Regions from separate parts of the Homo sapiens genome. Here regions 1 and 2 are each linked to region 3. The links are contacts of gene promoters, found by promoter capture Hi-C in human tissues and cell types (Jung and others, 2019). All regions are on one chromosome and are shown on one strand. The core of a region is centred on a gene start or on the middle of the fragment in contact, and the rest is flanking DNA. Distances in the headings are between cores, read along the strand shown.

Region 1 (4,105 bases), core at 1,102-3,601, 160 kb before region 3:
TCTTGAATCAGGGAATGTCTTAATTTCTATTGCATTTGTGAGAGAGAGTTTTGCTGGATATCAGTCTCAGGATTCTCTCTCTTTGGAGCTCAACAGATTTACTATAATGTGTCTTGATGTGGATCTCTTTGAGTTTATCCTATTTGCAGTTTATGCACTTCTTGGATGTGTATATTAACTTTTTCATCCAGAGGGATTTGACTGTTATTTCTCAAGATATAATTTCAGCTCCCTTTTTTTTCAACTTTCCTTCTTTGACTTTCATTATGTATATGTTAGTACTTTTTTGGGTGTCCCACAAGTCTCTTAGGCTCCGTTTATTTTTCTTCATTCTTTTTTCTTTCTCTTTCTTAGACTGGATAATTTCACTTGACCTATATTCATTTTTACTGATTCTTTTTTTTTTGGAGAGGGAGACTCACTCTATTGCCCAGGCTGGAGCGCAGTGCCGCAATCTCAGTTCGCTGCAACCTCTGCCTCCTGGGTTCAAGGGATTCTCCTGCCTCAGCCTCCTGAGTAGCTGGGATTACAGGCACACACCACCACGCCCGGCTAATTTTTGTGGTTTTTTTTTAATAGAGATGGGGTTTCACCACATTAGCTAGGCTGGTCTCAAACTCCTGACCTTGAGATCCGCCCACCTCGGCCTCCCAAAGTGCTGGGATTACAGGCGTGAGCCACCGCGCCCGGCCATTTTTACTGATTCTTATGCCCACTCAAATCTGCTGTTGAGCCCCTTTAGTGAATTTTTAATTTCATTTGTTGTACTTTTCAGTTCTAAAATTTCTATTTCTTTTAAAAAAATTTCTCTCTTTATTGCCATTTCCTGTTTGTTGCATACTTTGTTCTCTTGATTTTCTTGAGTTCTCTAAACATATTTAAGACAGTTGATTTAAAATCATAGCCTAGTAATTCCCCTAGTCATTCAACAGGAGAAGTTTCTGTTAATTTCTTTTTTTTTTTTTCCTATGACTGGGCCATATTTTCTTGTTTCTTTGCATGCTTAGTTTTTTGTTATTGTCATTAAATACTGTACATTTTGAATATTATGATGGGCAAAAAGGAAAAAAATAAGAAAAAAAGATATCTTCTCCAGGTCTGTGCATTTTGGTTCTGTATGGGGACACTACTTCAGTGCTTAGCCAGGTCTTTCACAACCCTGCCTTAGTCCTGTCCTTAGCCTAGAGATTAGCCAGAGGTTGAAGTTATGCTCCCCTCAGATCTCTTCTAAGCATGCATTCTGCCCTGAGCATTCAAGTGGCTTTCTAGTTCCCTGGTATACTTGAGCACTTTTTCCAAGACTTTATTCCCCAAAGATTCTCATTCCCTACCTTTTCTTTCCTTGGCTTTCAGCATATCTGTTGTTTGTCTCAACTGTGCTTTTGCCCTACACAGCAGCAACTTGTTAATTTGCCTTTTAGTATTTTTGAAAAACATCCCCTGTGTAGCTATGTCTTCATGGTGAAGCAGCATTGTTGTCTGGGGTAATACCCAAGGTTCATTGTCCCACAGCCACGGAAAACCAGGACATGAACACACCACTGTGAGGTTAAGAGTGGATATTTAATAGGTGAAAGAAGGAGAGGAGCTGTCTGCACAGAGAGGGGTCCCAGAGAAAATGGGTTGCCGCTTCCACAGTCAAATGCAGGTTTTACAGATGAGCTTGAGGAGGCAGTGTCTGATTTACATAGGGCACAAAAAATTGGTCAGACCAGGTGTACCGCTTGCATAGGATGTGAAGAAGCTGGCCGCCCCACCCTAATCTTTTATTATGCAGATGGGTTCTCTACTGGGCCAGCGCCATGTTGCCTGCTTTTTTACTGTACACGTGGTGACAAAGAAAAGGGAAGATGGAGACCAGGTGCAGTGGCTCACGCCTGTAATCCCAGCACTTTGGGAGGCCAAGGTGGGCAGATCACCTGAGGTCAGGAGTTCGAGACCAGCCTGGCCAATATGGTGAAACCCTGTCTGTACTAAAAATACACAAAAAAATTAGCCAGGCATCATGGCGCACGCCTGTAATCCCAGCTGCTTGGGAGGCTGAGGCGGGAGAATCACTTGAACCCAGGAAGCGGAGGTTTTGGTGAGCCGAGATTGCACCACTGCACTCCAGAGTGAGACTTAGTCTCAAAAAAAAAAAAAGAAAGAAAAGGGAAGATGGAGCCTCCATGTTTAACATACTTGGCTTCCAGGTATCCCTTTTCTATTGCAGAGCATTTACCTGTGCAAACTTCTAGCTTGCTTATCTATGTTTGCAGCTCTATTTTTCAGGCTGCTCTTTGTTAGAAAAGAAATGATTTGGGGGCTGCTTTTTATTAAAAGGGAAGCCTTTCTGAGGGCTCCTTAACCCTCACTATCTACCTAAATAATTTCTTTCTAGCTCCTGTATCAATTGCAAGAAAGTTCTGACTTAGCTGAAATGCAGTCAGACCCCTTGAATCAAAACGATTCCTTGGGAATGAGGTCTCTTTTACTTGGGAACCAAGTCAAGACAAACAATTCCTTGAGAATAAGATCCCTTTGACTGTTGTCAGGATTAGGTTCTCAGGCTAGTAAAGTAGCATGCTATCTTTAAGACTGCTACTGTGGCCAGGTAGGGAGTGTGGCAAGGGTATCTTACAGTACTACAAAACGCTCTTAGCCTTTTTCAGTTGCCCTTTTTCTGATTAAGTGTTTTCTCAGTTGTAAGCTTTTTACTCTCTTCCCAAATTCCAGTAAAAGTGATTCTGACAGCTATGCAGTAGTTTTCAGTGTTTCTGAGACAGGATGACCCCAGCACTTCCTATTTTGCCAAAATTTTTTTGTTCTTATTGTTGAATTTCTAATTCAAAAGCACACCCTAGCCCACTTTAGTCTGTAGTTCAATATCCTATTGTGGTCTGCCCTACTTATGTACTATCCTGAGGCCAATGTGAATTCTGGAAATTATTCTATACTATAATTCAGTTCTCAGTATTTTTTTTCTGTGTAGATTCTGGTTCGTTTTATGTAGGGGTTATTTAGGATTTCATAAACAGATGTAAAAGATTCTTGTCTGAAGGCTCCTCTTCTCTGATTCTCCCTTATCTCTTCTTGGGATGACTTAAGTGCAGGGTGTGGAAAGTTAACAGAGCAACCCACTGTGTGTGCAGCTGCCATGCTGGTTGAGATCAGAAATGACATCCTTTCTTTGCTTATGTTTGCTTGGTGTCAGTTGGGGCTAGCTGACAAAGCTTCCTCTCTCAGTCTTTCCAATAGCAGTACCCGATTGGGAGGTGAGGACTCTGCTTTGCCTGCTTTTCTTATTGTTGGCAGTGATGGTTGACAGGCTTCACACCTCAGCCTCTGTGGCTAAAGTGCCTGATTAGGAGTGAAAGGGGCACAGCTCCTTTTTGGCATTGGGGTTCCCTTCTGCCAGGCCTGTTTCTTCTCATTTTGCATGATCTCCGTTGGTTAGAGGGAATGGTCTTTCCTGGGGCCTTTTGGGTTATTGTTGTTGTTAATGTACCCTTTGGTAATTCTGGGTTGCAGTTTGCTCCTGTGTACAGACTGGGATATACAGGAGGCAAAAATAAATCCTAAGGAATTCTTTTCCAGGTCCTCCCTTGATTCCTGAAGACTCTACCTGTCCTGCTTTCTTCATTCCACATTTCAGAGTTTCTGATGTTTGCTTTATGTGCTGTGTTCATGGTTTTAAATTATAGTTAACGGAAGCATTGGGGTGGAATATGCTTACTCTATCATTACTGGTACAGGAACTCAACTCCCGCAATCATTTATCAAATGAGTGATTAAATGATACATGGTTCTTGCCTTCAAGTTACTTGTGGTGTATGTGGCTTACATTATTAACATAGATGTACTATTAAGAGAATTAAGACTCATTCCTGTGAGAGTTCTCCTAGGCAAAGGAGTGAGATTATTTCTAGCTGTTAGGGAATAGGATACGTGGTGTGGTGGTGTGGTAATTGTTCTGACAATGGTTCTCTGTCACCAACTGGATGTCCTGCAGCTCAGTTCAGTTCTCACACTAACAGACCCCACAAGTTATAGGCAGAGGTCTCCACCAGGAGTGCCTCCACTTCACACTCCAGCTGCAAGTATCAAGGTCCACCTGCAGTTAGGA
Region 2 (3,699 bases), core at 1,038-3,537, 180 kb before region 3:
TTATGTTCAGAGATTAAAGACAGGTGTAAGAAATTATAAAAGTATTGTTTGGGAACTGATAAATGTCCATATTAAAATGAAATCTTCACAATTTATGTTCAGAGATTAAAGACAGGTGTAAGAAATTATAAAAGTATTATTTGGGAACTGATAAATGTCCATTTTAAAATGAAATCTTCACAATTTATGTTCCTCTGCCGCAGCTCCAGCTGGTCCCTCCGTTCGGGGTCCCTGACTTCCTACAACAGTCCCCAGCCTTTTGAATTATTGATGTTATGAACTTGTATATTTATATGTTGTGCACCCCAAAATGTAAACTAATAATTCTTTAAAATGCATTAGTTTTTTAAATTACATAGAAAATAATGTGGAGTCACAAATGAAAATTACATTAATACTAGCTTTTAGTCTAATTTTTAAAAAATGTATTAGTCTGTAAAATCATGTAGGAAACAAAAAGTAGAGTAACAAACTATTGTTGCAAAAATACTAGCTTTTATAATTTCACATGTATTTACCTTTATTGAGTCTTTTTTTTTGTTTTTTTAAACTTTTTACTTCTTTTGCCTTTTTCCATATGTTCTAAGAGTCTATTTCTTAATATGTCTTCAGGTTACTGTCTAGTGTCCTTTCTTTCACTCTACAGAATTCTCTTGACCATTTCTTACAGAGAAAGTTTAATGATAACCAACTCCCTCAACTTTTGTTTGCCTGAGAATGTCTTAATTTCTCCTGCACTTTTTTTATTTTTTGTTTTATTTTTCTTTTCTCCAGCCACATCCCTTTGATCATCTCCCTCATTATTATTATTATTATTATTATTATTATTATTATTATTATTATTATTTTGAGATGGAATTTCACTCTTGTTGCCCAGGCTGGAGTTCAATGGCGCGATCTCAGCTCACCGCAACCTCTGCCTCCCGGGTTCAGGTGATTCTCCTGCCACGGCCTCCCAAGTAGCTGGGATTACAGGCATGCGCCACCACTCCTGGCTCATTTTTTTTGTATTTTTATTAGAGATGGTGTTTCTCCATGTTGGTTAGGCTTATCTCCGATTCCCGACCTCAGGTGATCCTGCCTTGGCCTCTGAAAGTAGTGGGATTACAGGTGTGAGCCACCGCACCCGGCCACTATCTCCCTCACTTTTTAAGGACAGTTTTGCAGAATAGAAAATTCTTGGTTGACAGATTTTTTTTTTTCTTTTAGCACTTTGAATATATGACCTCACTGACTTCTGGCCTCCATACTTTCTGATGAAAAATCTGCTGATCATTTTATTGAACATCCCTTGTATGTGACCAGTCTCTTTTCTCTTGCTGCTTTCAAGATATTCTCTCTTTGTCTTTGTCTTTTGACAGCTTGATTATAATGTTTCTCTATGTGGATCTCTTAGTTCATCTTGGAGTTCTTTGAGTCTCTTGGATGTTTTATATTCATATCTTTCATCAAATTTGGGATGTTTTAACACTTTATTCTGTCTGCTTCTTCCTCTCTTTTTTTTTTTTTCTGAGACTCCTACAGTGCAGAAGTTGGTAGTTTGTTCTCTTGACATGTCCCCATGTCCCACAGTTTCCTTACATTCTTTTTTTTTCTTTTTAATGGAGTTTCCCTCTGTCACCCAGGCTAGAGTACAGTGGCGCAATCTCAGCTCACTGCAACCTCCACCTCATAGGTTCAAGCAATTCTCCTGCCTCAGCCTCCCGAGTAGCTGGGATTACAGGTGCCTGCTGCCACATTCAGCTAATTTTTTGTATTTTTAGTAGAGATGGGGTTTCACCATGTTGGTGTGGCTGGTCTTGAACTCCTGACCTCAAGTGATCCACCCACCTTGGCCTCCCAAAGTGCTAGGATTACAGGCATGAGCCACCACGCTCAGCTAGTTTCCTTACATTCTGTTCACTTTTCCTCATTCTTTTTTCTTTTTATTTCTCAGACTTGACAATTTCTATTGTCCTATCTCCAGGTTTGGTGATTTTTCTTTCTGCCTACTCAAATCTGCCTTTGAATTCCTGTAGTGAATTTTTCATTTTAATTATTGTACTTTTCACTTCCAGAATTTCTTTTGGTTTTCTTTTAGGTTTCTTTCTTTGTATTGATATTTCTATTGTGTTCCTGTATCATTTTCTTAACTTTCTCCAGATCTTTCTTTAGCATTTTTAAGATGGTGGTTGTAAAGTCTGTATGGTAGATCTACCATCAGATTTTTTTTCAGGGATGCTGTCTATTCATTTATTTTTTTTCATTTCACGAGGCCATTCTTTTGTATCTCTTTTTTTTTCTTTCTTTCTTTTTTTTTTTTTTGAGATGGAGTTTCGCTCTTGTTGCCCAGGCTGGAGTGTAATGGCATGATCTGGGTGCACTGCAACCTCTGCCTCCCAGGTTCAAGCGATTCTCCTGCCTCAGCCTCCCAAGTAGCTAGGATTAAAGGCATGTGCCACCACACCCAGCTAATTTTGTATTTTTAGTAGAGAGGGGGTTTTGCCATGTTGGTCAGGCTGGTCTTGAACTCCCGGCCTCAGGTGATCCGCCTGCCTTGGCCTTTCAAAGTGTTGGGATTACAGGCATGAGCCACCGTGCCCAGCCTTCTTTTATATTTCTTTGTATCCCTTGTGTTTTGTTGTTATTGTTGTTGAAAAGGGCTCATTTGAACCTAATAATGTGGTAACCCCCAAAGTCAGATTCTCCCTCTTCCCCAGGGTTTACAGGCTTGTTATTGTTATTATTTATTTTATTTATTTATTTATTCATATTTTTGTAGGCCATCTCTGTGCCAGGGATTAACCTGAGGTATAAACTTAAGGTCTTCTCAGTTTGTTTCTGGGCTTGAAGCTTTCCATGGGTATGTGCAATCTCTTACAGAATCTCCCCTTATATGCAGTTATTTGTCAATGTCCTAGTCTTGATTGTTCGGCTCTTAGAAAGGGGAAATGAAGAAAATGAAGGTGGGAAAAAAGGAGCTCTGGCCTTTTAAGTCCCCTGGAAATCACTTCAACTGGAGGAAGCAGGGTTTTCAAAAGTGTGGGGATGTGTAACTACAATGGCTGCCTGACTCTTTGTCTACACTTCTGTGATAAGAAGCCGCAGTGAACAAAACACAGATCCTTTATGGCTGGAGGACAGGGTCCTTTTTTTTTTTTTGCTTGCTCTGGCTTCTATAAGCTGTGTGTAAGCTGCTCTGGTTATACTCACATGACTGCCTGCCAGGGGGGTGGGGGTGAAGAAATGGGTAGCTGCTGCTATACTAAGAGCTGAAATTTGCTAAAATTAATCACAATTTACCATCCAAGCCCTTCTCCAAGCCTTTGCCTGGATGTTGCCAGCCTTCATTAGACTCAGAGTTTCCAAATGGTTATATCAAACAGATTCTGCCAGTGAAATTGTTATATAAGTGGAGAGATGGAATTCTGGTACTTCCTATTCTGTCATCTTCTCAAAACCCTCTCCTTTAAATATATTTTAATATTCTCTTTTAATTTATTTCATTCACGTTTTGGCTATATTTGTATTATTTTTTATTGGCTGCTGTGGGGATTATAACATACGTAACCTAACTTTTAACAGTCTATTTAGATTTGATACTTTACCACTGCAGTTATAGTCTTGTGGTCCTATAACCACATGGATCACTTCCCCTTCCTGCTTCATGTGGTAGTTTTCATGTGAATTATATTCACATGTATGTGCTGAAAAACTCCA
Region 3 (3,921 bases), core at 823-3,322:
AAATTTTTTTCAAATTTTCAACATATCTTTGATATTTGGAAGTTTTACCTTGGTAAAAGAATGGAATGTACCTTGGTATAGGTTGTTTTTGCTGTTTAATGTATCCTTCTTGGGATCTTTTAAACTAAAAACTTCTTTTTTTCCTATACAAGCTCTCTTCACTCTGTTTTCTCCCATGACTGTTCAAGGGTACATTTTTCCTCTTTAAATTCATTTCTGTCTTCTCTTTGTCTGTGAAGGACTCCTCAGAGTGTCTGTCCCACCAGGAGCTCCCCTTTTTATTTCCTAGTGTAGCTGTATATTCGTGCATTTATTTGTCTGTAATATATCTTGTATTATTTCAAGGGAGTTGGTGAGAGGGGAAGAGGGCACAAGGTCAGCTCAGTTTCCCCTCTTGAATCTCAGTACTTCTTTTTATAACTTCATCTGCCAGAATCATCTTCCTCTAGTCAGGTTTCACTTAGTTAGTTCATAGTCTGACTTGCCACATCACCTTTGTTCAACAAACGGCAGTCTCTAAAGTATCTTCATGCCAGCATACAAACCTTTCTTCAGCGTATATATACATTAATTGCCACAGTCATTTGAAAACCATTACTATAGGTTATTGAAATGACCTATATTTCATAGGTTACTGGAACAACTTTTTGAACAACTTTTTGCAATCTACTTTAGTTTTAGAAAAATTAACATGCAGCATGTAAAGAAGGACCAAATCCATTAGCTGATTGGCACCTGAAATCATAAAAGTCAATTCAGAGAGCAAAGTAGTATGTTGGAAGGGAATAACAACAACAGCAGGGGAAAGCAATATGAAAACCTGAACTGAGAGACAAAGTGAAACTAGAATTTGCTGAGTGGCATGGCAAGTGTGCTCTGATGGATATCATAAGTGCTCTGCAATGCATGAAATGTATACATTGAAATTTTCTTGCATTAACAATTGTATGTGCAGACCTTCCATCCTGTTGTGAGGAGTCAGGGCCTAGACCTCGAGGCTCTAGAGTTAAACTCTCATGAGGGTCTCAGGCATCCTGCTGTCCTGAGGCATCCTGAAAGCACTCACTTATGGGGCATTGCCTGATTGAGTGCTTAGGAGTGTGAATGTGCCAGCTGTGGCCATTCTGAGCACACCCCTCTCTCCCAGTATCCTCATTCTGGAAACTACCTCTCTTTCTTTTTTTCCCCCAAATTGACTCACTTTTACTTACCCAGAAATCTAAATAGATAGGCACAGAAATAAACTTACAGAGCTATTTGAATTTTGACAAAATCAGTATCTAAACAGTCTCACTACAGTGTTTAAATACATTTTAGGAAATGGTCTCTCAATACTAATTTTACTATTAATGCTTAGGCCCTCATTATTTTCATTGATATACAGAATTTTGCTTTGCACTTAATATTTGCTTTCATAAACAACTTCGTAATTGAGTGTTTGCCTCCTAGAGGTAAATTTTCTGGGATTCCAATCATAGTATCATTTTTATCAAGTAATTTTTTTCCTTCTAGCACTTACTGTGTTTATCCCAACATTAAATATTATTTATAAACCTTGATTAACTTATTTTTCTTCATTTAAAATTTCTTACCAGTTATCTTAAGTAAACTTTAAAAATATTAATTTAGAATTTTAAAATTCTACATGAAGTCATGAGATGTCTATTATCTATTTTCACTTCATTCAACAGATTTAAAATGAAAAATATTTTGAATTATTTATGTTCTTTTAGGACTTAAAAATTAATAATATTTTCAAACCAATTTATACTTCTATTGAACACATAATTCCACCTAAACATATAAAAATAATTTAATACTAAGTATACAAGGTCTGAAATACTTGGGAAGTACATCGTGAAAAAAACAAACAGAATAATGCATACTTTGAACTTTAAAAATCTATTAGTAACGAGCTAATTTACTCAAGAGTTAAACAGTTGTGAAATAAAATACCCAAATATTAAAACCATTCCACATGCTAAGTAGAAACTTAAAATTTAAAACTTTTTTACCTGGAGATCTAAACTAAGTAGGCTTTGCTTGGTGTCATTTAAGTCTCCAGCTGAAAATGAAACAAAATCAGAGCTTTCTTTAAAAACAAAGAAAGGACAGAAGGGAATGTTGAAAAGTATTTGCTGAACTTCTTAGTAAAATCTAAAATAACTGCCTCCCTTGGGGATAAATGCCTTTCAGTTCTTTGTGCAGAAAATCAGCCAAGAAAGTAACCAGGGAAAATGGTTACCAAGGGAAATATTTTTTTTAATCATAAGAAAAGTAGAAAACAGCAGTGGGTGTGGGGGAAGAGCATTTTGTTTGCAGGCTGAAAAGGCAGAGTTGGAAACACAAAAATGAGCTTGATTAAGAAATCTGTGGTTTTCATAGACTATTCGCATTAAAAATGTTAAAGTTTATACTAGCCAGGATGATGTCACTTGAGCTTTATCAGATTATAGGGATGATATTCTCGTCAGCTAAAGGCTGTGTATATCTGGAATCTATTTTAAATTGGATTAATAATATTTAACTCATCTGCCCACCCACCTCGATCTCACACACAATACTAACAAAACGACAACAACAAAAAAATGGTTACGTATTAATATCAGTGGAAATTATGTAACTTCTAACCATGAAATAATAGAAAGAAAATGTGAAAGGGAGCTGTGTGGCTCCTAATTACCTGTTACGCTGGCAAATTAGTTGTGTACTTTGGCCTCAGTTTCTTTATCTGCAAATGAGAAGTTAGAGACAGATCAGGATTCCAAGCGCAACCCTGCTGTTTATGAGGGACCTTGAGTAAGTTACTTAATGTTTCTGACCAAAGTTCACTCTTCTGTAAAACTAGGGTGATACCTTTCAAATTTTTCTGAAAATAAAAGGAATAACAGATATGAAGGTCCTAACTCAGTGCCTATCCTAGACTAGGTAATTTTAGAACTATTTTTTAAATTTTTTTTTTTTTTTTGAGACGGGAGTTTTTGCTCTGTTGCCCAGGCTAGAGTGCAATGTCGTGATCTCAGCACACTGAAACCTCCGCCTCCCAGGTTCAAGGGATTCTCCTGCCTCAGCTTCCCGAGTAGGTGGGCTTAAAGGCGCCTGCCACCATGCCAGATTAATTTTTGTATTTTTTTTTTTAGTAGAGATGGGGTTTCACCATGTTGGCCAGGCTGGTCTCGAACTCTTGACCTCATGTGATCCACCCACCTCGGCCTTCCAAAGTGCTGGGATTACAGGCATGAGCCACCGCACCTGGCCTGAAATTCTTATATCGTTATTTCAGGGGTCCAAATCATTTGGCAAAGAGGAGCTAAATATTTGTTTAAATGACGTGGTTAGACTGAATCAGGATTTTGTAAAATGACCTAGATAGACTGAATCAAGATAAGGGACTAAATACATAAGCCACTCAACTTCCTAAAAATAAGGAAAATGATATCTATTTTTAAAAATGTAAAACTAGCTGAGTGCAGTGGCTCACACCTGTAATCCCAGCACTTTGGGAGGCAGAGACAGGTGGATCACCTGAGGTTAGGAGTTTGAGACCAGCCTGGCCAACATGTGAAACCCCGTCTCTACTAACAGTACAAAAATTAGCCGAGTATGGTAGCACATGCCTGTAGTCCCAGCTACTCAGGAGGCTGAGGTAGGAGAATCACTTGAACCTAGGAGGCGGAGGTTGCAGTGAGCCAAGATTGTGCCATTGCACTCCAGCCTGGGCAACAGAGCGAGACTACATCTCAAAAAAGAAAAGAAAAGAAAAGAAAAAGATGAGTACAAATGAGCAAACACCATTAAACAGGCAGTTCATAGAAGAGGAAATGTCAGTGGTCAATAAAACAGAAGAGGAAGATTTCTCAATCTCAGTAACAGTCAAGAAAAGTAAATTAAAACAGGAAGGTTATTTTTTCACTACCATAG

Evidence for each region. Contacts are between HindIII fragments. The study calls those that stand out against the background at their distance.
Region 1: a fragment that was not itself captured here is called in contact with the fragment with the promoter of ECM2 in region 3 in 2 of the 25 tissues and cell types used here (dorsolateral prefrontal cortex and hippocampus).
Region 2: a fragment that was not itself captured here is called in contact with the fragment with the promoter of ECM2 in region 3 in 1 of the 25 tissues and cell types used here (lymphoblastoid cells).

Annotation. Positions count from the first base shown.
Region 1 is chr9:92,374,904-92,379,008 of GRCh38, forward strand. All of the region lies in intron 4 of CENPP (centromere protein P), which reads left to right. Among named protein-coding and RNA genes, the nearest start is that of OGN, 28 kb to the right of the region's middle. The HindIII fragment of the contact is 3,555 bases long and covers 575-4,105 here.
Region 2 is chr9:92,356,663-92,360,361 of GRCh38, forward strand. All of the region lies in intron 4 of CENPP (centromere protein P), which reads left to right. Among named protein-coding and RNA genes, the nearest start is that of CENPP, 33 kb to the left of the region's middle. The HindIII fragment of the contact is 6,350 bases long and covers 1-3,699 here.
Region 3 is chr9:92,533,918-92,537,838 of GRCh38, forward strand. ECM2 (extracellular matrix protein 2) reads right to left here and starts at 2,073. Exons shown (of 10, transcript NM_001393.4): 1 at 2,016-2,073. All of the region lies in intron 5 of CENPP (centromere protein P), which reads left to right. The HindIII fragment of the contact is 14,623 bases long and covers 1-3,921 here.